Regions from separate parts of the Homo sapiens genome. Here region 2 is linked to region 1. Evidence: promoter capture Hi-C in human tissues and cell types (Jung and others, 2019). All regions are on one chromosome and are shown on one strand. The core of a region is centred on a gene start or on the middle of the fragment in contact, and the rest is flanking DNA. Distances in the headings are between cores, read along the strand shown.

What was found. The method cuts DNA at HindIII sites, captures the fragments that hold promoters and counts their contacts. A contact is called where the count stands out against the background at its distance.
Region 2: a fragment that was not itself captured here is called in contact with the fragment with the promoter of ABCA8 in region 1 in 2 of the 25 tissues and cell types used here (dorsolateral prefrontal cortex and hippocampus).

The regions. Positions count from the first base shown.
Region 1 is chr17:68,951,898-68,959,040 of GRCh38, forward strand. ABCA8 (ATP binding cassette subfamily A member 8) reads right to left here and starts at 3,495. Exons shown (of 40, transcript NM_001288985.2): 1 at 3,322-3,495. The HindIII fragment of the contact is 19,891 bases long and covers 1-7,143 here.
Region 2 is chr17:68,904,019-68,911,161 of GRCh38, forward strand. It overlaps ABCA8 (ATP binding cassette subfamily A member 8), which reads right to left. Exons shown (of 40, transcript NM_001288985.2): 18 at 3,722-3,861; 19 at 2,026-2,145. Among named protein-coding and RNA genes, the nearest start is that of ABCA8, 48 kb to the right of the region's middle. The HindIII fragment of the contact is 5,133 bases long and covers 1,205-6,337 here.

The DNA.
Region 1 (7,143 bases), core at 2,245-4,744:
ATTTTTGTTTTGGATGATCTCTCATTCTATCTTATTCTCACGTTAAACCTACTTTTCTTTTGCTTCTAGTTTTGTCTACATCTTTACCTTCTATTGAATTGAAAATGTTTTCCTCTCCTTCTTCACTTCTTCTCCTGTCCCAAAGATGTAAAAGGTGGTTATATGTCTTTTATGGTTACTCTTAAATACTTTTCTAAGAAACTATAACTTATTTTATGAAAACTCAAAAGTATTTATTATCTCTGTTCTCTTTTTACAAACAAATGCCTTCTAGTTATTTTAACACTCTGCTGAATTCCAATCTAATTATCCTGGTTATTTATTTATTTATTTATTTTTGAGATGGAGTCTCGCTCTGTCGCCCAGGCTGGAGTGCAGTGGTGCGATCTCGGCTCACTGCAAGCTCCGCCTCCTGGGTTCATGCCATTCTCCTGCCTCAGCCTCCCGAGTAGCTGGGATTACAAGCGCCCGCCACCACGCCCAGCTAATTTTTTGTGTTTTTAGTAGAGATGGGGTTTCACCTTGTTAGCTCGGATGGTCTCGATCTCCTGACCTTGTGATCCGCCTGTTGTTGTGTAGAAATGTGATTCAATTTTCAATTTAAAGAACATACAAAGTAGATTCATTTTTTACCATCAAATGTCTATTAACTTTGCCAATGAATTATGCATTTCTGTAGCGAGGCTTTGATATACTTGGGCTTGTGCAGGAGGTGGAGTGTAGAAATTCCTCCTGTACAGGGCTTGCATTGGCGGCAGCTGCTTTAAGAACCCAGAAACTTTTGTCCTCTCTGTAGGCTAGCTCACTGTGAAAATATCCCATGGATTTTACCTAAAATTGCTTACAGAGAGTGGCATTATACTTCTATAGATAACTGCATCAGTAACCAGAGAGGAGAAGTACAGCAGTAGACTACCCTCTACCCCCTGGTAGGAGTAGTAGCACATCACAGTTTCAGCATGTTCAATCTTGAGCAAAGAACATGATGTGATTGTTTCTGGGTATGTCTGTATATGGGGGGTGATTTTGTAGGGGAATTTATACATACAGTTTATTGCAGCAGGCACATAAAATACTTCCCAGAAGAAGATAATTCAGTGCATAATAAGAGCACCACATCTTTCCAGAACTTCAATCAACCACTGCTACACAAATAGGATTTGCTAAGCCACTCCTGAAAACTGTAGGACTAGAGTGCTTTCAAATGGTCTTTGCCGTGGGAGAAAACAGGCTACCTAAGCTGAATTATAGAAAGTAAAGAGATTCTGGAAGGTACCATCATCAGTTTTCTGGGAAGCATGTGAAGGACATGACTTGGAAGAATGGGTCCAGACTTTTGAGCACAAAGCCAGCAGCTCCACCCTGAAGACCATCATTTGGCTCATAAGTCCTGACTTCTGAAGCAAGTGATCTCCCTCCGTATGCATGCCATGTTGGCCATGCAGTTTCTATGAACTCCTCCATAGTGATGAGAAGTGAATGAGCCCCAACTGAAGCCATCATCTCATTTATGGGACAGGATCACACACAGGGTGGTGCTACTTTCTAGAGCCAAATCTCAAGTAAGGTGTCCAGGGGTCAGTTGCAACAGAAGGCACATTAGCCACAGCAGTCTCAGAGAACACTGCTAGAAGAAGAACCTACACATGGCCATGCAATGAGGCTGAGGGGCAGGCCTAAGTGGAAGCAGACCAAGTAAAGAGGTCAGAGAGCCCATGGAAGGAGAAGAGGGAAAGACAGTTCCAAGAGTAAAGCAGCCTAGGTTAAGGTGCAGAAAATTCAGCATGGATACTTTTAAGAGAGCTGTGCAAGGCTCTCCTTACCTAAAATCACACTCCGTATACAGACATACCCACAAACAATCACATCATGTTCTTTGCTCAAGATTGAACTTGCTGAAACTGTGATGTGCTACTACTCCTACCGGGGGTAGAGGGTAGTCTGCTGCTGTACTTCTCCTCTCTGGTTACTGATGCAATTATCTATAGAAGTATAATGCCGCTCTCTGTAAGCAATTTTAGGTAAAATCCATGGGATATTTTCACAGTGAGCTAGCCTACAGAGAGGGCAAAAGTTTCTGGGTTCTTAAAGCAGCTGCCGCCAATGCAAGCTCTGTACAGGAGGAATTTCTTTTTTTTTTTTCGTTTTATTATTATACTTTAAGTTTTAGGGTACATGTACACATTGTGCAGGTTAGTTACATATGTATACATGTGCCACGCTGGTGCGCTGCACCCACTAACTCGTCATCTAGCATTAGGTATATCTCCCAATGCTATCCCTCCCCCCTCCCCCCACCCCACAACAGTCCCCAGAGTGTGATGTTTCCCTACACTCCACCTCATGCACAAGCCCAAATATATCACAGCTTCTCTACAGAAATGCATAATTCACTGGCGAAGTTAATAGACATTGGCCAAGAGGATGATCTCCTCACTATGGAATCAGCTACAGTCTTAGGTAGCATGCAAACTCCAGTCTGACTCCAATCCCTTATATCTTCCATCGTAAAGTATTATTGCCAACTTTGTTTCTTTCCAATTTTTGTATGTTCTGCAGTTTATGTAAAGGCTAGCAAAAACATGAATACTTTATTATACATATGGCAAATAGTCTCAAATTGTAATGACTCATTTTTATCCTCTTATACTGTTGTAAAATTCAGAACAACATGTATTCACTATAGGAGTATGAAAATTCTTTTTACCAATGTACATTTTAAATAACATTGTGGTAAAGAGAAGCTACATATTTCACATTCTGATTCAACTCACTGTATCCAACGAGTAAAAGATCCTAGAAAGAATCTTACATTTCTAAAATTCTTATAGACTAAGAGTGAGCGATAGGAACAATAAAAATATTTCTGTAAGTGCTCTTGGTAAACAGTCTTAAAGTCAGAAGAACACTTATCCAAAATGCCCTACATTATTGTGCAATCAAAGTAGATAACTTTAACTTCAAAAACAACTCAGTCTTCCAACCCAATTCTTAAAACTCTAAGCTCTTCACAAAAAATTTTTAGCCAATTTAAACTTATTTCTACACTCAGTTATGTTTAAAACAACATAATGTTTGCATAATTTTTTAAAAAACATTCTAACTCAATGTTTTTATTTATCTAATATTAATTACCAGATATAAAATCTTTAAAGTAGCCCAATATTTTTCAAAATAATTTCTGCATAGATGATTGTCATTCAGTTTATAAAGGTTTATTTATAATTTTGTGATAGGAATAAGAAAAGACAAAACCTCTGAAACAAACTCACACACAAAAGCAAAATACAAAACAAAACAGAAAAAATACAGTGAACTTACTTCTGGGAAAATGGAAGCAAGGAATCTAGAGGTATGGTTTATCCACTGAGCTCCTTGTTTAGAAGAAAGTTATTCATATTTTCTCCTGGTCTCTACCATGTATCTAGAATTTGCTTTAACTATTTGACTTCTGTGAAAAGTTTCTGTGAAGACTGCTTTCAGAGTGGAGGTTATGATCTCAATTCTGTTGGCCCTGCCAAACATCACATTCACGTCATCATGCTTGGACTGTTTGTCTTCTCATTGATATTCGGCCAGTTCCTGCAGAGCAGTGGCATTTATACTGGGTTGCCTGGCTATATCATATTATAGGGAGCAATTTCTCTTTTACGTCCAAGATTATTGTGGCTAATACCAAAATTTAAAGTGCTGTCTTTAAGCCATGAGAAAGTAAACAGCTTAATCAGAGAAAAGCTCTTCTCTCTACCCAGAGCTCTAGTCTGCTTAATTGACAGCTTTACCTAGATAATCAAAATTTTCATTCCTCTGCTTCCCAGCTTCATTTTCACTCAGTTCAGACTATTTTCCAATTTATTTGACCCACGGATTAATCAGAAATGTGCTTAATTTCCAAGTGTCTGAAGATTTTCTTATCTTTTGGTTATTGATTTAATTTTAAATCAGAAGTTCAATTATACTCAGAAAAAATATTTTGTATGTCAAATTTGTTAAGGCTTATTTGATGACCCAGGATATGATCTATCTTGGCAGATATTCCATAGGCACTTGAAAAGTTGTATAGTTTTTTGGTGTTGAGTGGAATATTATATAATATCTATTACATTTAGTTGGTTGATGATATTGTTCAGTTTTTTCTATATTTTTCCTAATTTTCTGTCTCCTAGTTCTGTTGATTACTAAGAGAGGAATGTTGAAGATTTTAACAAAACTTAGGGACTTTCAAATTTCTCCCTTTAAAACTATCATGTTTTGCCTGATGTATTTTGCAACATTTGGAATTGTTATGTCTTCTTGGTGAATTGACCCTTTTATCATTATGTAATGTTAATCTTTATCTCTAGTAACTTTTGTGTTCTAAAGTCTACTTTGTTTCATATTAATAATATAGCCATTCTTACTTTCCTGTGATTATTGTTTTCGTGGTATTTTGTTTTCATCCGTTTATTTTTATCTACACACACACACACACACACACACACTATATGCTTTCAGAGTGGCAGTTATGATCTCAATTCTGTTGGCCCTGCCAAACATCACATTCATATTATATGTGTATGCGTGTGTGTGTATGTGTGTGTGTGCGTCTGTGTTTGTTATTATTTTTTTAAGATGATGGTCTTGCTATGTTGCCAAGGCTGGACTTGAACTCCTGGGTTCAAGTGATCTTCCCATCTCAGACTCCTGAGTAGCTGAAACTACAGATACATGCCACTATACCCAGCTCTAAATTGTATTTCAAGTGAGTTTCTTGTAGATGGCATATAATAGAGTCATGAGTTTGGTTTTTAAAATCCAATTTGACAATGCACATCTTTTAATGGGTGTGTTTAAATTATTTTCATTTTATGTAGCTATTGATTTTTAAAATCAGATCTGCCATTTTGTTATTTGCTTCTTTTCTCTCTGGTTTTAATTCTCCTATTTCCCATTTTCTGCTTTCTTGTTGGTTATTTGAAATTATTTTTTGGTATTGCATTTCAACGTATCTATTATGTTTCTTAACTGTATCTATTTGTATAGTTATTTTAGTGGTCACTCTCAGGATTACAAAAGACATACTTAACTTGACATGCTTTACCCAGAATTAATATTTCTTCATTTTAAGTGAAATATATAAACCTTACTATGATATACAGACAAAATAGGAAGGAGGTCAACAAGGGTGCTGCTCAGTAACTATATAACCAGAAGGGGAAGAAATAGAGGAGTAAGAGGCTCAACATGGTCTCCATCACCCCAATAAAAAGTCATGATCTCTTGCTCAGCTCCTAGTCCTAAGCTACTTTTCAGATACAGAACATATTGATTAAAAAACTAGTCAGACCCCTAGAAGAAAAGATCTTGCAACATCTTGACAAGTATATACTGTGGTGATTATACTTCCTAGTCCTCCCTCAAAGGGACCTAAAGCCATTATTTGGGTGATTATACACTGAAGAAAGAAAAATCCCCAGACATGTCAAGGGTTGTTGGGCATAAAGTCAGAGTGGACATTGATAACTGCAACCCACACTAAGGCCCTACAGCTAGATTGAGAATATAGAGCCAAGGTCGTAAATGGAGTTCCGGTTAACAAGCAGCTCTGCCTCGTCTCACTGGACTTATGGACATACCCAGTGGTGATTTTGCTGTCACCAAATGTGCTGTTAGAATTGACATATCTAGTAGTTAGAATAACTTCCATGCTGAGTCCTTGGCCTGTAGGGTAAAAACTATCATAATGCAGAAGGGAAAGTGGGCACCTTTGACAATTCTCCCAACTTTATCCCCAGCCATGACACTTAATCAAGAACAGTATTCCACATGGGGAGAAGAAATGCAGAGACCAATGCCACAAATAGTGACATAAGGATGAAAGGTAGTGGTGCCTAGCACACCTTAATTTAATTTGCCAGCCTGATCCTTGCAGAAGCCAGAAAGATTCTAGAGAATGCTTAGACTATCTCAAGCTCAAACAACTAGTGGTCCTAATTAGAGTTGCTTTGTCAGACATGGTATCTATTCCTAGAGCAGATACATGATTTTTAGCCAGCGATTAGTCAGATGCATTCTTCTCTATTCTGATTAGAAAAGAGCATCAAAAACAGTGCACAATCAGATAGATTAGGTAATATTATTTCTTTACAGTTTTCCCTCAGTGCTCTATTGACCCCCTAGCTTTTTTTATAATATAGTCTTAAGAGGTCTGGACCATGTAGACATCCACAGAATATCATATTGACACATTGATGGCATCATGCTGATCAGACAAGATGAGCAAGATGTGACTAGCATGCTGGAGGTTTTGGTAGTACACATGTTTTAGAAAGTGGGAGATAAACCCTGTGAAGATTCTGGAGGTTTTCACTTCGGCAAAGGTTTTATGGATCCAGTGGCTAGGGGTGCTTTGCCTATCTCCTTCAAAGTGAAAGAAAAATTACTGTATCTTGCAGCCTCAACCAGTAAGAAGAAAGGTCAGCATCTGTGATGTCTCTTTAGATTCTAATGGCAACACATTCAATGGCTGGTTATATATATTATATATATATATAATTATATTATATAAATATATAATATATAATATAATTATATATATAATATATATAATATATAATATAATTATATATAATATATAATATATATATAATTATATATAATATATAATATATAATATAATTATATATAATATATAATATATATATAAAATATATAATATATAATTATATATAATATATAATTATATATTATATATATTATTTATATATTATATAATTATATATTATATATATTATATATTATATATATTTATATATTATATAATTATATAATATAATATAGTATATAAAATATATATAATATTTAATATATATAATATTAAAATATTAAAATATATATTATATTATATATAATATATAATATTAAAATATATATTATATTATATATATATTATATTATATATATATTTTATAATATAATATAATATAATAATATAATATAATATAATAATATAATATTATATATTATTATTATATAATAATAATATAATATAATATAATATAATAATAATAATATAATAATATATATTATGTATACTGACTCATAAATACATACTGACTCATATATATATTATATAATTATATAATATATATTAAATTTTATATG
Region 2 (7,143 bases), core at 2,521-5,020, 48 kb before region 1:
AAACCTCAAAAAGCACACACCCGTAAATGTATAAGTACAGTGACAGGACACAAAACACACTGTGAATGAAGATATAAGGATCTTAAGATAGTGGTCAAAAGTCCATTAAAAAAATTAGCCGGGCGTGGTGGTGGGCACCTGTAGTCGCAGCTACTCGGGAAGCTGAGGCAGGAGAATGGCGTGAACCCGGGAGGCAGAGCTTGCAGTGAGCCGAGATCGTGCCACTGCACTCCAGCCTGGGTGACAGAGCGAGACTCCATCTCAAAAAAAAGAAATAATAATAATAATAATAATAATAATAATAATAATAATAATAATAATAATTCAGGGATATTCTGCTTCTCGTTAGTTGCAAGAGACTGTCAACCTGTCTTACCAAGGGAATAAATATTAGTTATTTTTAATCCATCAGATGGGCGAGAGCACAAAGAAAGCTAAAAAACTAACATGTATAAAGGAAGGAAACATTTCTAGGGGGAGAAGATTCCTGTGGAAGCTTTCATCTTTAGGGACATGGCAGAAAAAGGAAAAAGGAGAAAACCACCATAGGTAGGTGAAAAGAAAGCAGCCCAGATTTAAAAATTCTGTGATTATATGTGGGCTGATATAACTGACTAGAATCATGGGGTACCTAAGTCACAAAACGAGTTTACAGCATCTACGAACTTTTTTTCGTGGAGCCTTTCCTAAGTGCATAGGAACAGTACAGCAGTAGCTGGGGGCAGATACTCAGAAAAACGGAGAGAGAAACACAAGAAGCTGCATAGTGTCTTGAGCAAGACATCATCAGGGTTCATGGGTCTTTCCTTTTGTGTAATACATGAGTCCACTAGGGTCCAGTCACTGAATGAGGAGTGGAGAGATGTATACTAACAAATAAATAAACAAAAAGTGATGACAGGCTGAAAATCAGTGAGATTAATCATTATTGAGATATTTGATAGCAGGGCTATAGAGAAATATATAGAATTTTTCCAGTGCTATAATTCAAAGTCACGTCTAAGGGAAAGACCTGATTCTACCTTTAAAACATTCGAAGCTGGGAGTGGACTGAATCTAATAAAACCTGTGCAAAAGCCCAGGCACTTGCCAAATACAAATTAGATCAGTTCTGCCATCCACATCAGTAGTCTGACAGAGGAAGAGTCATGCCATTTTCTGGCCATTGTTTACCTCAGTGTTCCTGTTTTGTTAAAGTAACATCCATGATAAAATACAAATTTCAAGACATATGAAGAAGCGGGGAAATATAACCCATAGGGAAGAGGAAAAAAAATCAGAGTCAGTTACTGATAACGGTCATCAGTCACACGGTCCACATGTTAGAATTAAAATACACAAGTTTAAAAATAACTATGATAAATATGTTACAAGATCTACTGGAAAATATGGACAATATTGAGAGCAGATGAGAAATAGTAAAGAACTGAAACTCTAAAAAAGAACAAATGAAAATGTTAGAATGAAAAAGTGCAGTATCAGAAATAGAGAGTTTATTATGTTCGGCTTCAAAACAGTCTGAACACAAGAGAATAAGTTATTTGTGACCTTGAAAATAGGTGGATAGATAGTGTCCAATTTCTAACATAAAGAAAAAAAAAAGAAAAACCTGACACCAGAGAATCTGATATCTGTGGAACAGTACAATATGTCTAATTAAGACTCTCTTCTTTATTGCTGGCCTACAGGAATTTAATAGTTTCATTTTAAAGTATTGTTTGGGGTTCTTAAGTGTTTTAGATCTGTGGGTTCATGTTTTATATTAATTTATGATTTAGAATAAATGTTTTATCTGAAATTGCCCTTAGAAGCCTAGAGCTAATATGAGTGCAGTGAGCCTTGGATGTAGAAAAATGGATTATTTTTAACTACAAAGCAATGTTGACAGGGATGCGTTTCATTTTTACACAAGCTTGTCTAAGAAGAGCCTTAATCATGAACCCCACATTTTGTAATCACATCTTTGGAACAGTGTGTTCTTGAAATATGTGCTTTTACATAATAATTTTCATGCATTTTATTTACCCGATTCATTAATTGTAGATTTTCCTTCTAGCTTCAGGAATACTTCATTCAAAGTTGTCATGGAAACACCATAATTCTCAATTCCTAGGTCAGGATAGCTATCAAGATCCTTGTAAAGTTCTAAAGAATACATATACAGCAGTGAATTAAAACAAGAATCACAAGTGAACTGAAGACAATTTTTCAAACTAATAAGCACAAATCTATGAAACTATACTTGTGATATGTCAAAAACATTTGAAAATTAACATTTCATAATAGATCATCTTATTCTGCAAATTCTATATATTATTTTCTATTTTACATCATGTGTTACAACCCAAATATTACTTTGTCAAACATTAATTTATATTCATTTGCATTTCTATTAAAGTTTAATCTTAGTTTTTTCTGACTTCCTTTTAAAATTTAATTAATTGTGAGACTCTGGGTTTTTCAACTCTAAGCCTAATTAATTGAAAAGTCTTTTCTAGAGAACAGATATAAATGGGAGCCATTTATGTTCTAACTGACAAAAGGAAAGGAATTAATTTTTTGAGAATTAATTGGATGGTGTAGAATCTTCTGTAGTTTAGAAAATATTTGTTAAAGAGAAGACATAGAATATAAACCATTAAAAAATTTTCTGTTTCTAACAATGGAAGAAAAAATTCACAAGACCTAACAGGCAGAGAATGTGGAACTGAATCAGGGAATTTTCCTGGAATTGTGACAGTGATTATTCGCTCTAGCAATTTTATATCTATTCATTCTTTAGTTCGTTCACCAAAATATACTTACGCATCTGTCATTGTTCATGAAGCAGTGAACAGTGCCCCTGCCTGCATGGATTTGAATTACAGTGGTTAAATCAAGCTTAAATAAAAACCTAATTCTAATACTAGGGTGATTACAGAAGTCCTGAGGCTTCCATCTGGAGCTCCTGCTTGGGCAAAAGGATAGGTTAAAAGCTTTTTGTCTTGACTAGAATACCTCATACAGAAAGGTAGAAAAGAAGTAAGATTTAAGCTAATAATGAGTATTATGCATCATTCTTCATTCCACCTAAAACGTCTACAAATTTTCTTTAAATTATAATTACTGTTAAAAAGTACTAATCAGAATTTGCGTAACACTTTCCTGATGATTCTAAGGAATGCTTGTGTTGTCACCATAAAATGTGTATTTGAATGAATGTATATGTCTTTGTTAACCACATATACAGCAAGGTTAATTGTTTCAACCACTAATGTGGGCCCTTATAGTGCCCCATTGTTAAGGAACAAGTTCCCTGAACAACAAACATAGTTAGTAAACTTTTATGCGTTAGCCTGAAAAACCCAAAGTTATTGCAAAAGTCTCACCGAGACAGATAGCCACATCACAGGGCTGTTTAATGTAGTGCATAAGCCAGAGGTTTTCAACCATTTGGGTTTGTGTACATTTATGAATACTAGAATATTATGTTACACACTACTAGGGAAGAAGGACTAAAAGAAGCCCTCTAAAATGCCCAGGCATTACAATACAACTATTAGAATGTAATTCTATTTCCCACTATACAGAAAATAATTCAGTTATTGTACTATTCTTTTGATTATGTTTCAGTACCTGAGCATACTGTAAGACATTGATAAATGTTAGTTGTAATGATAATAATTATGATGATGATGACTATTATTCACATATTTTATTTCACAGTGTTCATGCACATTACCTGGAAATTTATTTGTTCTTTCTAAGGGTAATGTATAAATAAGTTTTCCTTCGCTTTTGGCTGATAATTTGGCATCAGGGATGTGCTGTTTAACAAGTGATGTTATGTTTTCCTCAACACATATTTCATTTAACTGCAAGCTGGCATTCAGAAAAAAAAAAAAAGACATATGTTACTCGACATAGTCTCCAATAGCAAGAAAATAATTAACTAGTCTCTATAGGACAAAGAAAATCAATTAAAATCTAATGCCAGAAATAGGTCAGACAAACACAAAATAAGAGGACAAAAACCCAAGAAATAAGAGGACAAAAACCCAGCCAAATCATATAAATGTGATGGACAAAAGAAAAGAATGAGCTAATGAGAGTTACTGGTGAGGTTACTCAGGAGTAGTGCCCAGAGAAGTTTCATATTGATTGAAGCTCCTGAAGAGAGGGTGGTCACAGAGTGGAAAATACCAGGGTTGCAGTACAGCAAAGGTCAGGACTATGCAAAATGGATAACGTTGCAGTTGAAGGTTCAGTTTTAAGCTGACTAAATAGAATTGTTGTATCGCTTCAAAGGAACAAGAGACTTGTGAGAAGTATAGATGCCAAACAGTTTCAGTTACTCAATGTAGTCATCCAATGCAAATTTACTAAGTTCTTAGTATGTGACAAACATCATACTTAGTGTTGAGGATACAATGGTGACTAAAGCAGCATTATTCTGCTCTTATGGAGTTCATTGTCTAGTGCGGGCGTCAGGAAGAAAACATGTAGACAACCAGATGAGTAAAATAATTATCAATAGTAGTAAGTGCTATGAAGGAAACTGGATTATAGATAGAAACTAATAATGGATGAATGTGGTTTGCTTTTCTTGTAATGCTAAGCCCAGAACTTTGAATAAGAACAAAGTATCATTGAGAAAATCAGTCTATCCATTGAAAAATACCACAGCTATTTCTCCATTATAGAGAAACAGACAAACACAATATTCTATTAATTGAGGTTATAAATTATACAGTGGGCAAAATATCAGTAGTGACTTGGCTTTGAAATATTGTTTTAGCATCTGGAACGTGTTATTTAACTTATCTAAACAGTTACTTTATTAGAAAACTGGAATAATGATTCCCAGCCTCTAGGGTTATTCGAACAATGGAATAATAGTGAAGTTTGCACTTGACAAGCCCTTAAAAATGGTAGCAATTTTATTTGACCAAATGCATAAGTCAAAAATTATTCCACTGACACATAAGTCATGTATGAACTTAAAAGAATATATGCTATTTTTTTAGAAGTAGTGAAATCCACTGGAAGAGTGAAGCAAAAAATGTCGTAGCTGTTTTCCATGATGCTGACTCCTGAAATGAAAACAATTTAAGAATTATTCCTTGGCCACTTGTAGGAACTTGTGCTGAGTGCTGGGGCGGAATGAATGAGTCATGCAGAAAGTCATTCCTTGAGGAACTTGAAGCTTGAAAGGGGAGGTTGTAAAACTTTTTCTGTAAAATGTGTACTAGATAGTAAATTTTCTAGGCTTTGTAGGCTGTTAGAACTCTGTTGAAACTCTTCCACTCTGCTGTTGTAACATGGAGACAGCCAGAGCAGTGTGTAAAAGAAAGGGCATGACTGGGCTCCAACCAAACTGTATTTACAGAAAGAGGAAGTAGGCTGGATGTGGCTCATGAGCTATAATTTGTTGGCCCTTAGATTAGAAGAAAATAAGGCAATTGCACAAATAGGAGTCCATGAATGGACTCGCAAATTGGGCAGGGATCCTGACTAGCACTTTTTATTTTGAAAACATGTTATGTTTCCATGCAGTGTGCCAGGCAGTCTCTTATTTATTTTTCTATAACCTTTACTTGTAAGTAGGAATTGCTACTCTCACTTTGTAGGTGGAAACACTGACTTTCAGATAGTTTAATTAATTTCCAAGAAGAGATGCAAACAAAGTGCTATAAGAAATAAAAAAAAATTGGGACATTACACAGAACTGGAAAAATATCTACATGAGATATTTTTCAAATAACTTTCTAGGACTTAAACAAGTGCAGATGAGTTAAGGAAACTGTCATCCTATTTTCTTTGTATTGTTGTCATGATAGGTTTGTTTTCTTTCTTAAGTATAGATGGTATAAATTTACAAAAACGACCAATCATGTAACAAAAACAGTAGTTTAAAATATGGATTTGACTACTAGATTTAGAATTTAAAAATATTCAGGTTCAATTTCTGATTCCAGCACTTCTTAATCTAGGGAGTCTGTAATTTCATCTGTAAAATAAAAGTAACAACACTTCTATTTTAAACAATAGAAGATTTAGGAGGGGAGGTAGAGCAAGGTGGCCAGATAGAACCCTCCAGAAATCTTCCCATCCCCCAGGAACACCAAATTGAACAACTGTCCACACAAGGAAGCACCTTCATAAGAACAAAAAAATCAGGTGAGCAATGATAGTGGTTTTAACATCATATAAGGAAAGAAGCACTGGAGAGGATAGGAAAGACAGTCTTGAATTGCTGACACAACTTCCCATCCTTGGCAGCAGCTGTGTGGCACAGAGAGAGAATGTTGTATGCTTGGGGGAGGGAGAGGACAGTCATTGTGGGACTTTGCATTGGAACTCAGTGTTGCCTGTCACAGTGACAAGCAACGTAGGGCAGAATTCGGCCACTGCCCACAGAGGGAGCATTTAGACCAGCCTTAGCCAGAGGGGAAGCATTCATCCCACTACCATGGACTAAAGTGCTCTGGGGATCTAAATAAACGTAGGACCACAGGGACTGAAATTCCTGGGCAAGTCCTGATGCTGTTCTGGGCTCAAAGCCAATGGACTTGGGGTGCAAAAGACCTCGAGAGACACCAGCTGGAGCAGCCAAGGGAGTGCCTGTTTCACCCCCTCCCCCAACACCAGACAGTGCAGCTCGCTGTTCCAGGAGAGACTCCCTCCTTCTGTTGAGGAGAGGAGAGAGGAGTAAATAGGATTTTGTTTTCCAACTTGCATACAAGCTCAGCCACAGCAGAATAGGACACCAGGCAGAGTTCTGAGGACCCCATTCCAGGCCCTTGCTCCCAGATGACATTTTTAGACATACCCTAGGCCAGAAGGGCACCTGCTGCCTTGAAGAAAAAGACCCAGTTCTGGCAGAATTCATCACCTCCTGACTAAAGAACTTTTGGGCCTTGAATAAACACCAGGAGTAGCCAGGCAGTACTTGCCACAGGCCTTGGGTGAGGCCCAGTGCTCTGCTGGCTTCAGGTTTGACCTAGCACATTCCCAGCTGTGATGGCTGTGGGGAGAGACTTTCTGCCTGAGGAAAAGAGAGGGAAGAGTAAAGGGGACTTTGTCTTGCAGCTTAGGTACCAGCTTAGCTACAGTGGAGTAGAGAGCACCAAGCGGACTCCTGGGGTCCTGGATTCTAGGCCT